Regions from separate parts of the Homo sapiens genome. Here region 1 is linked to region 2. Evidence: promoter capture Hi-C in human tissues and cell types (Jung and others, 2019). All regions are on one chromosome and are shown on one strand. The core of a region is centred on a gene start or on the middle of the fragment in contact, and the rest is flanking DNA. Distances in the headings are between cores, read along the strand shown.

The links. Contacts are between HindIII fragments. The study calls those that stand out against the background at their distance.
Region 1: a fragment that was not itself captured here is called in contact with the fragment with the promoter of CD302 in region 2 in 1 of the 25 tissues and cell types used here (lymphoblastoid cells).

The regions. Positions count from the first base shown.
Region 1 is chr2:159,832,047-159,839,030 of GRCh38, forward strand. It overlaps LY75-CD302 (LY75-CD302 readthrough), which reads right to left. Exons shown (of 38, transcript NM_001198760.1): 26 at 3,434-3,599; 27 at 1,998-2,165. LY75 (lymphocyte antigen 75) reads right to left here. Exons shown (of 35, transcript NM_002349.4): 26 at 3,434-3,599; 27 at 1,998-2,165. Among named protein-coding and RNA genes, the nearest start is that of CD302, 37 kb to the left of the region's middle. The HindIII fragment of the contact is 5,948 bases long and covers 2,058-6,984 here.
Region 2 is chr2:159,795,150-159,801,524 of GRCh38, forward strand. CD302 (CD302 molecule) reads right to left here and starts at 3,059. Exons shown (of 6, transcript NM_014880.5): 1 at 2,983-3,059. The coding sequence starts at 3,049. All of the region lies in intron 33 of LY75-CD302 (LY75-CD302 readthrough), which reads right to left. LOC124906083 (a long non-coding RNA gene) reads left to right here and starts at 41. Exons shown (of 2, transcript XR_007087273.1): 1 at 41-2,803; 2 at 3,670-5,103. The HindIII fragment of the contact is 5,989 bases long and covers 1,933-6,375 here.

The DNA of each region.
Region 1 (6,984 bases), core at 3,782-6,281, 39 kb after region 2:
ATTCACTTCACTTTCCCCTATTTAAAGGTAATTTTTCAGTTGGTATAAATCCACCCATAGTAATGATATACTGTCAAAGATTACGCTATAATAATTAGAACCTCTTAGATGAACTATAACAGGGGTTCCCAACCCCCGGGCCACACACTGGTACTGTTAGGAACCAGGCCTGTTAGGAACCGGGCCTGTTAGGAACCGGGCCATACAGCAGGAGGTGAGCAGCAGGCAAGCGAGCATCACCGCTTGAGCTCTGCCTCCTGTTAGAGCACTGTGGCATTAGATTGACAGAGGAGTGCAAACCCTCTTGTGAACTATGCATGCGAGGGATATAGCTTACATACTCCTTATGAGAATCTAACTAAGGTCTGATGATCTGAGGTGGAACAGTTTCATCCTGAAACCATCCACCCCTCCCTGTCAGTGCCAAAAAGGTTGGGGACTGCTGGGCTATACGACAGATCTTCCTTTTCCTTAGTTTTCAGTATGAGGGTTAAAAAGGCTTAATATTTCCCAAAGGGTGTTCCTCACAAAATTAACAAGGAAGTTTCAGAAAAGATCTACATGGATTTTAAAAAAAGTTTGCAAACATTGGTTTAAACAAAATTAAACTAGTTTATGCCAGTATTTCTTAAGGCATATGTTAATGTACATTTGTTAATGTCCAACAGGAAGCTATGGTGTCTAGTGTTTCTCAACCTTTTTCTTTTTTGTTGGTTATTTTTTTCAACCTTATTCTAAGGACTTTTTGCAGACCATCTCTCAAGACTGATGTTATACGGAGCATGCTTTGGGAAATACTGGTTTGATATTTTCTATAGCAACTTTCACTAAGTTCATTGTTCCATTGGTTCCAACAGTTCCATCATTTGGAAGTCACAAATCCTTAGTGGATCTCATAGGAATTATCTGAAGACTCTTGAGAGCTGAAAATGTGAAATGTGCACTTCTTTAAGCTTAGCTGCTGCCTTGTGGTGTATCTAAGCTTTTGACTGCTCCAACTAACTTATTTTCACTTCCCCATAGCCTAGCTTGATTTAATGTCCAGTTCTCTGCTCTCTTGTGTGTCATTTCTTTCCCCCTTCCTTTTTTTTTTTTTTTTTGGAGATAGGGTCACCTGTTATCCAGGCTGGAGTGCAGGTGGTTCAATCACAGCTCACTGCACCTTCAACCTCTTGGGTTCAAAGATCCTCCCTCCTTAGCCTCCCAAGTAGCTAGAATTACAGGCATGTGCCACCATGCTTTTAATTTTTTGCAGACAGAAAGTCTCACTATGTTGCCCAGGCTGGTCTTGAATGGTTGGCATCAAACAATCCTCCCACTTCAGCCTTCCAAAGAACTAGGATTACAGGCATGAGCCAGTGTGCCTAGCCCATTTCTTTTCCTTTTAAAGGAGAACCTGCCTTCCTTACAAACATAGACTAGTTCTTGAATGGAAGAGTAAAGAAAGGAGTTATGCCTATACTTTCCATTTTAACTAACACAAATTTTAATACTTTGTCACTGATAATGTAGATATTAGGAGATGAATATTTTTGTCATCTAGTTACTAGTGCTAATTAGAAATATTTATAACACAGGAAATATTTTTTTAATTAGCAAAATACAATAAGTAATGACAGTATAATATACTTGATATGGTTTGGCTGTTTCCCCATCCAAATCCCATGTTGAATTGTAGCTCCCATAATCCCCACATGTCATGGGAGGGACCTGGTGGGAGGTAATTGAATCTTGAGGGTGGGTTTTTCCCGTGCTGTTCTCGTGATAGTAAGTCTTATGAGATCTGATGGTTTTACAAAGGGCAGTTTCCCTGCACATGCTCTCTTGCCTGCTGCCATGTAAACATGTCTTTGCTTCTCCTTTGCCTTCTGCCATGATTGTGAGGCCTCCCCAGCCATGTGGAACTGTGAGGCCATTAAACCTCTTTTTCTTTATAAATTACCTAGCCTCGGGTATGTCCTTATAGCAACATGAGAATGGACTAATATAATACTTACTCAGTTTCTGGCATTTAGTATGAACTTCATCCTGTGTTGTTGCCATATGCCTATTCTTTGTTATTATGAAATTGTAGCAACAGTTCTGAAATGGTATCCACGGAGTATTTAGAACAGGAGATGGACATTTAACACTGTCAACTGGTTTGACCTCTTTTTCAGTCTCATCTAGAAAAAGAGTTAATGGTAAGAATTCTAATTTGAGATATAAATGTTAAATCCTGTTTGCAGTCATTAGGCTTGATTTGTAGGAAATATTCAGGAAGCCGAGAAGTAATATCCTGGTGAAGCCTGTCTCTGTTTATACTCAGATATAGCACACAAAAAGCCAGCTTTCTATAGGAAGGAAATTACTTGACACAATTTTCTTACCCCTGCTGTGGCATGGAAGAATGTAAAAAATGAGGTGCTATTAGGTTAAATGCAGTTTCTGTCTTCCTGCATTACCAAATGTCAAGTACAAGGGACCACCCCTAGAGATGCTGTACAAACATATTCATTATTAAAAGTCACCTAACTATAACTCTGAGAATTTATTTTAAAGTTTCTGTCTACTGATACTATTAATTTTAAAGGAACATTTAAATGAAACATTGATGTTCTAAATAAGTTATTGCTTTAACCAAGTCAAACAAAAATAATATTTAAAATCTGACATCTACAGTATCTGATTATGATCTTTTTCCATTTTATGAAAAGGCCATACATTCACAAAGATACAAATATAAACATATTCCACTCAAATACATTAAACTGATTTAATATGTGGCAGAGATCACTCAGTATCTCTCCTGGATCACAATAAGTCCCTTTGTCCATGAAGCAGTGTCTTCTTTCTACCACAGACCCACAAATGTGACCTTGCCAGTTGTAAAAACACTTTCCTCTGACTGGGCTAGAGACTGCACACCTGACTCAGGCTAAGTTCATGAGATGTTCTCTAGGGATTTACAAAGTGAAATTTAGAAATTGTCAACTCATCTCCAGTTATAGGTTCAGCTCTATCCCCGTTTTGGGGATCCTAAATTTCCCCTTGTCTTAAGCTAGCTTGAGGTGGTTGCTGTGAATCTTAAGACTCATAAAAGTCCTGTTAGTTGTGATATTATGAATCACAAAAGAATTCTCACAAATGTAAGCTTTCTACAACTATAAATATATGCAGAAAGAGGTAGAGTAACAATGGGATTTTAAGTGTTAATCCCCATTGTCAGCTGACATAAAAATAAAACATGCCTAAAATGACCCATTAATAATAATATATGTAATATATAATTCTACTTGAATACAAATTTTCACAACAAATGTTGCCATAAAAAGACATGACTATAATTTCTTCACAATTCCAAAACCAGATTTTATAAAACCACTCCTCAGAAATTCTACCACTTATGGGACTGTTAATAATTTAAGAATTAAAAGATCTGAAATTCACATACTTCCTGAATAGTAGCAAATAGCACCTGGTTGATTGTCATTGCAATCAACTGTTTTCCAGAATCCATCAGTGTCTAATACTACACAGTCTTCGAGTTGCCCATTAGTTTCAGCCCAGCGACTAAAATGAAGACGTTTCCCATCTGACCAACCAAAGTTGAGTTCATCCTGTAAGGAGCAGAAGTACATTTCAGGTGGCAATATTGATGTTAACCCTTTGTATTATTTTGACTCCCATGGTCAATCTAATGATTTTTAATTTTTTTAATATTTAATACACATTTACATACCATTTACTACATAACAAGCATTGTTCTAAATGCTTTACAAATATTGGCTTACTTAATCCTTGTAACAACCATATAGGAGAGGTACTATTATTATCTCCATTTTAAAGATGAGGAAACTAAAGGTATGTAACTTGTGCAAAGTCCCACAGAATACAAACCACAGTGCTGGGCCTTTCTGCCAGGCTGTCGATCCCCAGAGTCTATGTCCTAACCATTATGCTACGCTGCCTCACACATAATTGGATCCACTGGTTATCAGAAATCAGAAAGCTAAAATGGGGTGAGGATCACTATAAGTACTGATTAGATCAGAGACCACCTGGCATAGTGGAAAGAATATGGGCTACGGAGCTAAACCTACATGGTTTTGAATCCTGATTCAGTCACTTACTAGCTTTCATGTGCCATCTCTCCAAATTTCCATCCCCTACCAAGTTAAGTGTGACACTTAACTTCGTGGGGCTGGAATTAATGGGATAACATGTGTAAAGCCCGCAACCCAGGGGCTAGCTGGCACACAGAGAGCTGGTGGTTCCCTTCCTCTGAACTCTTCAGGCGCTGTGGCTCTCACATCACTGTTTTCACACTTGTTGGGGAGAGAAGCTTCTTCATTCACTAGATTCTGTTGTGTGCTAGAGGTCTGTGAACGTCTGCCTTTACACCCTGCCAAGGTCCTGACCACCCATCTAGGTACAGGAGATGGATTGTGGGGTACAGGCCTGTCTGAGCTTCCCCATGGTGCTGCCAGAGACCTTACATACCCACTGGTGGGCCTGGTGCTGGCCTAACAGACCCACTGAGCTAAGCTTTCCTGAGTCCCAAGACAATCTGCATCACTAGTTTATTTGAAATATGGAACGAAGCGACACAGTCTCCTTAGTAAACCATAAACAGCAACACAGTCAAGCCTCAACACCACTCGCTGCTTCATTCTGAAATGTTCATGACCAGAGTTCCAGCTGTAATCCTAGCCCCTAACCTAACCCAGTTAGGGCCTAAGCCACTGTGGCCTCCAGTGTGGCCCTTCGGCCATGCGACTTTGCCTGCACTCATTCAGACTGCCCTGCATTTCTTCCCCTTTGCTGCACTCCCCACCTAACCCTGTCCCTGATCCTTTGGAATTTCCATTCCATCTAAATAAATCATCCCACACCTTTTATCTTTTTACTGAATACAAAGTATGAAGACTATAAATATCTTTTCACTAAATTCTTGATCTTAATTGATCTTAATTTAACTCTGGCTTTTCCAGGGAATGCTCACACATTGTTGGTGGGATTATAAATTAGTTCAGCCCCTGCGGAAAGTAGTTTGGAGATTTCCCAAAAAACAAAAATAGAATTACCATTCAACCCAGCAATCCCATTACTGGGTATATACCCAGAGGAAAACAAATCGTTCTACCAAAATACACCTGCGCTCATATGTTTATTGTAGCACTATTCACAACAGCAAAGACAGGGAATCAATCTAGATGTCCATCAGCAGTGGATTGGATCAAGAAGATGTAGCACATATACATGATGGCATACTGTGCAGCCATAAAAAAGAACGAAATCATCTCCTTTACAGCAACATGGATGTAGCTGGAGGACATTATCCTAAGTAAATTAATGCAGGAACAGAAGACCAAATACCACATGTTCTCACTTATATAAGTGGGAGCTAAATATTGGGTACACATGGATGTAAAGATGGGCATGATATTGTCTGGGGACTCCAAAAGTGGGGAGGGAGTGGAGCAAGGGTTGAAACACTACCTATTGGGTACTGTGTTCACTATTTGGGTGACAGGTTCAACTGAAGCCCAAGCCTCAGCATCCCACAGTGTATGTATTGTAACAATCCTGCATGTGTACCCCCTGAATCTTAAATAAATACATAAATCTGGCTTTTCCAAGGGAATAATCTCCTTTCAGCACCCACAGGGGAAGACTATTTGATATTCTATTCTCAGATACCACAGGACTATGAGAAAGGAGTAGTGGATATTTTTATCTCCTTTTATTTCCTTTCAGGATTATTCCCCTTGTATCACTGCAAACTCCCCATGACATTCACTGAGGACTTGGTCGCCTTGCTCCTCCCTGACATTCACTAAGATGTCCCAATTCTTGCTGTCCTCCCGGTCCTACCATTAACTTGGGATGCCTGTGTTCATGTTTCCAAGCCTTCTTGACTTCCTTTAATTCTATGTATTTTTATTTCTTCAAGCTGGGTACTTGAGTGACCCACTGCATGGCCACACTCTGCACTTCACATAACCCAGAGCTGCCTCTCCTCAGACACTGTAAACGCCAACAGCATTTCCTGCATGAATTTATAGAAAAATAACTGCTCTCCCTCTCTCCAGCTGCTTGCGTCCTCCCCGGCCTTCCACACAGTGTCGTCTACTTAAGTAAAGTCTTATATTGCCACTACTCTGTTTAAAATCTTTCAATATCTTCTCATTGCTTTCAATGTAAAGTATTTATTAACATCCTGTCATTTTCAAAGAATTAAGGCAGCTATTAGGATATATAGTTAAACAGCTACACAGAATATGTTAAAATTAAGGGTGAAAGGGAAAAGAGAACCATAGGTAAAGGTTGAAAATAGGATAAGAAGTAAGACCCAAATCATTAAGTGGGGAGGGGAGTTACAAAATAGTCTGATTCCAACTGTCTAAAAAATAAATAGGTACACATAGAAAAATAACTTGAAAGATCCATACCAAAATATTGATTGAATCATGTTTATTTTTAGGTACTGGCATTACAGGTGACTTTAATTTTGTTCTTTTAATTACTGACAAATTTTCTACATTGCAATACTGTTTTTGTCTCAAAAGATTTAGGGTGACTGAAACTAGGAAATGTAATCACCTATTGTTTCCTCACAACAGACACAACAAAGCGTTTCACAGAATTTCCAATGCTGAAGATAAAGCAAGTAAATGCAATGCTATAAAACAATTGAGACTGTGAGGACTGAGTAAGCAGCTTCCCCATCTCCTGGCTTGCTCTGGGTTAATTTAATTTAATTAATTAATTAATTTTTTTATTTAGAGATGGAGTCTCACTCTGTCGCCCAGGCTGGAATGCAGTGGTATAATCTCGGCTCACTGCAACCTCCACCTCCCAGGTTCAAGTGATTCTGGTGCCTCAGCCTTCTGAGTAGCTGGGGTTACAGACGCCCGCCATGATACCCAGCTAATTTTTGTATTTTTAGTAGAGACAGGGTTTCACCATGTTGGCCAGGCTGGTCCCAAACTCCTGACCTCA
Region 2 (6,375 bases), core at 1,809-4,308:
AAGGTAGAGGTTGCTGTGAGCCGAGATTGCGCCACCGCACTCCAGCCTGGGTGACAGAGTGAGACTCCATCTCGGAAAAAAAAAAAAAGAAAGAAAGAAAAGGTGGCAGCAATAGATTAAGATGATTTAAGGCTTTGAATTCATTATGAAATGAGTGCATAGCAGAGGTAATATAATTTGAAAAAAATTGCAATCCACTTATCCTACCTACTTTTTAAATAACTCACCTAAATTTTTTCATCCTTTTATTATAACTTAGAATAAAGTGCAGAGACACAAATCAAAACAAAACAAAAATCCACAAGATGGTAAAATCTCTGTTATGGAGCTTCTTTCCCCTGGTAAGAGAAGCAACAAGCAAGACAGATGAATAAACACAATGCATTCAGAAAGGCTTGGAAAAGATAAAACATGGACATGTGACAGAGAATGTGGGTGTTCAGGGAGGCTTCGGAGAAGGTGACATATGAACAGAGATCTGAATGGTGGAGGTGGGGGCAGCCATGCCAAGGACTGGGGGAAGGTGGTGTGCACAGAAGGACCAGAGGTGTTGGAGTACCCAGATACTGTTTACTCTGTGGATACACAGAGTGAATGGCAGGAAGGGTGGTAAGAGATGACATCAGGGAAGAAGGCAGAGGCACCTCATCTAAGGCTTGTAGGACATGGCAATTCAAAATCCCTAGATTCTGATCCACATGATGATCACAGAATGAGGACTTACTCGGAACATGCTTGTTCACTCAGCTCATGCCAGGCATAGGAAACCACTGACCAAATAAATACATACTGATCATCTATTATGTGCTTAAGCACCCTTACGGAAAAACTTTTTAAAGCGATGCCATGGATTTTCACTCAGGAATTTAAAGAATGTTTTGTCCACTGTGATTTTCAAAATAATAGCTAAGAACAAGGTTAAGATCACTTCACTAATAACCTCCAGAATGACAGACAATAACAATGATTTCCGTTTCAACATCACATTTATATGCAATACCCATATTTATTATGCAACATCATAAGAGCTTTTCTATTAAGATCTTGGTATTCAGCAACAAACTCTTTCTTGACTTAGTTCTAAGCCAAATATGACCCCTGATCTTGCTTGGATGGGAGATTTGTAAAGTATTATGAAAAACACACTTAGTTTTTCAGCCCTATAACATTAGCATACATATGAATGTGTTCAGTAACCATAAACATCCAATATACATAAGGTGGTATTCATACGTTTTCTGGTTGCAACAATTACCCTTCATTTTGTATGAAGAGAATAAAGGGAAGGAAACCAAGATGAACCACGCCTGTAATAGGGACTAGACGTGGAGTTCCCACTTAATGCTCCCAATAGCCCCATGAGTAAGTATTATCTCTGTTTTACTGAAGTGCAGATAAGTTGGTTAACTAGCTAGGTCAAAGCTCACACTCATTTCCAAATTAATCCTTAAAGCTTCCTGACTGGGAGGAGCTGATTAATTAACATTAATTTATTCATCATGCACTTTTCTAAAGCTCTTGAAAAGCCTATTGATCCACACTGGACTTATCAAAGGAAATGCACAAAAATTTCCAAAGGGAAATTTGCCCTCTATTGCTGGTCAAAACAGCTTCACTGAAGAAGAGACATACCAAAATCTAGAAACTGATTTTCTTTAAAAGTCTGACAAGAAAGAAAAATCTGACAAGAAAATTCGACTAGCCTAAAGTACAAATGCACAGCCTCGCAGAGGGTGGTTTACATGAGAGTTGAGATGTTACTGGCTCGCAAAATGAGGGTGTGCAGAAGGAGGGTTCAGAGACAGCCCAGCTTTGTCTTAGACAAAATTAATGTTCCCAGTCTGAACAATGTGAACATGGGCACATCTTGTTTCTGCCCCTTTGATAGGCAGCAGATGTCACAACCAGTCATAAATGCAGGTCCACAGAAGTTTTCAAGAAAGGAACCTTGGGTTTGTATCCAAGTTCTGAGCTGCTGCTGCCTCCAACACTGAGGTCCACTGAAATATTCCTGTCAGTAGACTTCGAGCAGGCAGTTATTATAAAAACGCAGTGAAATCTGGGGCAAGGGGTGGGGGGGGGGAATCTCTTGCATTTTATTTAAATCTCTTGCACTTTATTTAAGCCCACACAAGTACTCATTTAGTTCTTGTTTATTTTGCTCTTTAATTCCTGGAATTATTCAGTCAGTGGTGTTTTTGGAAGTCTGTGTTCTCCAGAGTCTCCCCATCCACATATTTTTGACATGCTTGTATGGAAATTTTTTAAAAATAAAGACCACGGTCAATAGAATTGTGCATTTTCCTCACGAGTCGTTTTGTAAATGAATGATCACGTGTGTGATTTTTCAGATGTCACTTGCACAACAGCAGACTAGAACTTTAAAACTCCTTGATTTCAGTGAAATCCAAGCTTTGCCTATTCCCGTTCCTCTTCCATCCAGGGGTTATTTGGCTGAACTGTTTTCCTGTTTAAACAACTTGAACACCAACCAACTAGACAAACAGCGCTGCTTGCAAAAGAGGGCCTACTTCCTCCGGCCCCCACCCCCATCCCAGCAACCCCACTCCGGCCGCGCACCAGCAGGGGAAATCGCCACCAACGTCCCCGCTTCTCATTTCAGCCCGAAATTGCCCTGAAACGGCGCCCGTCGTGCGACTCCAAGTCCCTCAGTTCTCCGGCCAACTGGCCTAATTTGGGGGTTCCCTCCCCGCGGAGTGGGGTCTGCGGTGAGGATGTGGACTCCGAGGAAGACAGAGCCCTCCCTTATTCTCGGCCACCTCCCCTCCCCGAGGGCAGGCGGGTGAGAGGTGACCCGGAGCCAGGACCCACGGGGGACGGGCGTGCAGGGAAGGGCGGGATGGCCGGCCGGGTGTTGCGTCTGCGGGCCGCCCTCGGGTGCGCGGGGACGAAGAGCGTGCGTTGGGAAGGGGGCGAAGGCGGTCGCGCACGGTCCCGGCGAGGGACTACGTAAGGGCTTACCCGCGACGGCAGCAGCGGCGAGGCCCAGCAACGGCAGCAGGAGCGCGGGCAGCGCGGCCCGGAGCATGACGGCGGGTGCGGGTGGGCGGCAGCGGCTGCGCGGCCGGAGAGGAGCGGGGCGGGGCGGGAGCGGGGGCGGTGCTTCTCGCGTGCGAGTTTAATCCCCCCCCCGGGCGGAACGTGAACGGCACTGGGGGCTCCCACCAGGAGAACCCGGGTGTCCCGTCCCGCAGGAGCGGCTGGCGCGCGGCCTTCTGGAACTTCTAATTTTTGTTTTTTAAACTTTTCATTTGAATTGAAATAATTTAGGACTTTCGAAAATGTTGCAAAAACAGCACAAGAGATTTCCGTAACCCTTCAGCCAGCTTCTCTAAATATTGACATTGTATATAACGCCAGTGCAGTGATCAAACACAGGGCACTCGCACTGGGATAATGCGATTAGCTAATCTACAGCACTTACCACATTTCATTAATTGCCCCTCTAAGGGTCCTTTTCTGTTCCAAGATTCAATCCAGGATCATACATTGCATGTCGTGTCTCCTTAGTCTCCCTTTAATCTAGGACGGTTCTCTGTCATTCTTTTTCTTTCACGATCAAACCACATTTAAAAAGTACTGGCCAGTCGTTTTGTAGAATGTCCCTCAGTTTCATTTTGTCTGACATTTCCTTCTAATTGGATTCAGGTTGCGCTTTTTTGGGAAAGAGTTCCCCAGAAGTGATGTACGTGCTCGAGAAGGACAAGATGTCGATGTCTCATCACTGATGTTAACTTGGATCAGTTGGTTAAGGTGGCGTTTGCCAGCCTTCTTCTTTGGATCTACTGGCCAGAATCCTCCTTTTCAAAGACCCCTTTCAGTGGACTATGTCTCTTAGACAACTTTTCTCTGTTACCAGCTCCTGGATGAAGAGTCTTTAAGCTATGTTTGCTACAATGTATGCATAAACTGTGCAATTATACTTCACCCATGAGGGCCTCTGGACAACACTAGCCAGGGTCAAGCAAGGGTGCTTGTTTAAGCCTCATGTCATTGGCAAAAGAGTTCTATAAAATCAAGTCTAAACTCAACAACGTGAAAACAAATGACCCAGTTAAAAAAAATGGTCAGATGATCTGAATACACACGTCATCAAAGAAGTTATATAATGGCAAATAGATGAAAAGATGCTCAACATCATATGTCATTGCTGAATTGTATATGAAAACAAAAATGAAATACCACTACATACCTATTAGATACCAGAATCCAAAAACACTGACAAGACCACATGCTGGCAAAGATGTGGAGCAAAAAGAACTCTCATTCAATGCTGGTGCAAATGCAAAATGGTACAGCCACTTTGGAAGACAATTTGGAAGCTTCTTCCAAAACTAAACGTACTCTTACCATACCATCTAGCAATCACAACTCCTTGGTATTTATCCAAATGAGTTAAAAACTTACATACACACAAAAACCTGCACATGAATGTTGATAGCAGCTTTATTCATAATTGCCAGAACCTAGAGGCAAACAAGATGTCCTTCAATAAGTGAATGGATAAACAATGGCACATCCAAACAATGAAATGTTACTCAGTACCAAAATTAAATGAGCTATCAAGCCACAAAAAGACATGGAAGAACTTTAAATATGTATTGCTAAGAGAAAGAAGCCAATCTGAAAAGACTGCATACTATATGATTCCAACTATATGACATTTTAGACAAGGCAAAACTATGGAGACAGTAAAAAGATAAATGGTTGCCAGGGGTTGGGGTGGGAAGAAGGAGGGGATGAATAGATGGAACACAGAGGATTTTTAGAGCCATGAAATTATTCTGTAGGATACTGTAATGGTAGATGTGTATCACTATACATGTGTCAAAACCCATAGAATGCACAAAACGAAGATGAACCCTAGTGTGGACAATGGACTTTAGTTAATAATGTGTCAATATTGGCTCATCCACTGTAACAAATGTACCTGCTAATGCAAGATGTTAATAATTGGGGAAACTGGGGTATGTGTAAGGAGGTACATGGGAGCTCTGTACCTTCTGCTACATTTTTTGTATACATCTAAAACTGCTCAAAAATTAGTCTATTTTTAAAAAAATAAAATCTGACCCTTTCCAACTCTTTCTAACCCTTTCCACACTTCTGATAATCCAGAGTGGTTACACCAAGGAAATTTGACCCAAGGGGTCTATAAGGAGAGTCATAGAGTGTTAGAAGTGGTACTAGTAAGGAAATTGAGTGACCCAAAGAAGGGATGTGATTCCCCCGTGGGCTCACAGAGAATGCCAACAAATGAACCAGAGCCCAGCTCCTCTGCTGGACTCTCCCACCTATTCCAGGTTCTGCCCCTTTGCCAAAGTATTAAGGTCTTGCTTAACTTATTTACTTCCATTTTTCTTCTCAGGCTGCCAATACTGAGTTTATTATATACCAAACTCCAGACCAGAGCAAATCCTTCCAAAGATACTCTATATTGGAATATTGACACATCTTGATTCTGGACCCTTTTGCCCTCCTAACTACAGAAGTAAAATGAACAGTTCTAAGCAATCATGTAATTGTGAAAGTTATCTCTTCCACCCCCACCTCAGGCACCAAAGTATATTTTATCAATGTGGTTTTGTGTTAAGCTACTTTTCAAATATTTTTATATTTACAATAGAATTGACATCCTAATGAATCAATCTAATTAAGGCAAAACCCATTTTAACACTGTCATTTTAAGTCATTTGTACTAAAGAAAATTATATTATTTTATTGTTAACTCTGGTGCACACTGCCTCATTTTTGATGCTAATCTGATGAAATAGACTACTTATTGCCTGTATGTGGGTACTGTTATATTTCGCTCTCCCATTTACTCTCCAGTTACACCTCATACCCTTAATTTTCCTTCACTCTGTCTCCAACTTACATCCTCTTTTGGCTCATGCCAGACTTCAGTCCCTTGCCTGCATTTTTCTCAGCCTTTTATTTCTCCCTTCTCCACCCAGCCGAAATACCACATCCTCTGTCCCCTTGTTCCCCTGGTGTGCTCACCTGGCCAACTCGGAATCTGTGGTCTCCGCTTTCTTCTTCATGCTTTTTTTTTTTTTTAGACGGAGTCTCACTCTGTCCCCCAGGCTGGAGTGCAGTCGCGCTATCTCAGCTCACCTCAACCTCCACTTTATAGGTTCAAGCAATTCTCCTGCCTCAGCCTCCCGAGTAGCTAGGATTACAGGCGTGTATCACCACACCTGGCTAAGTTTTTTCTATTTTTAGTAGAGGTGGGGTTTCACCATGTTGGCCAGGCTGGTCTTGAACTCCTGACCTCAAGTGATCTGCCCGCCTTGGCCTCCCAAAGTGCTGGGATTACAGGCATGAGCCACCTCGCCTGGCCCGTGCTCTCTT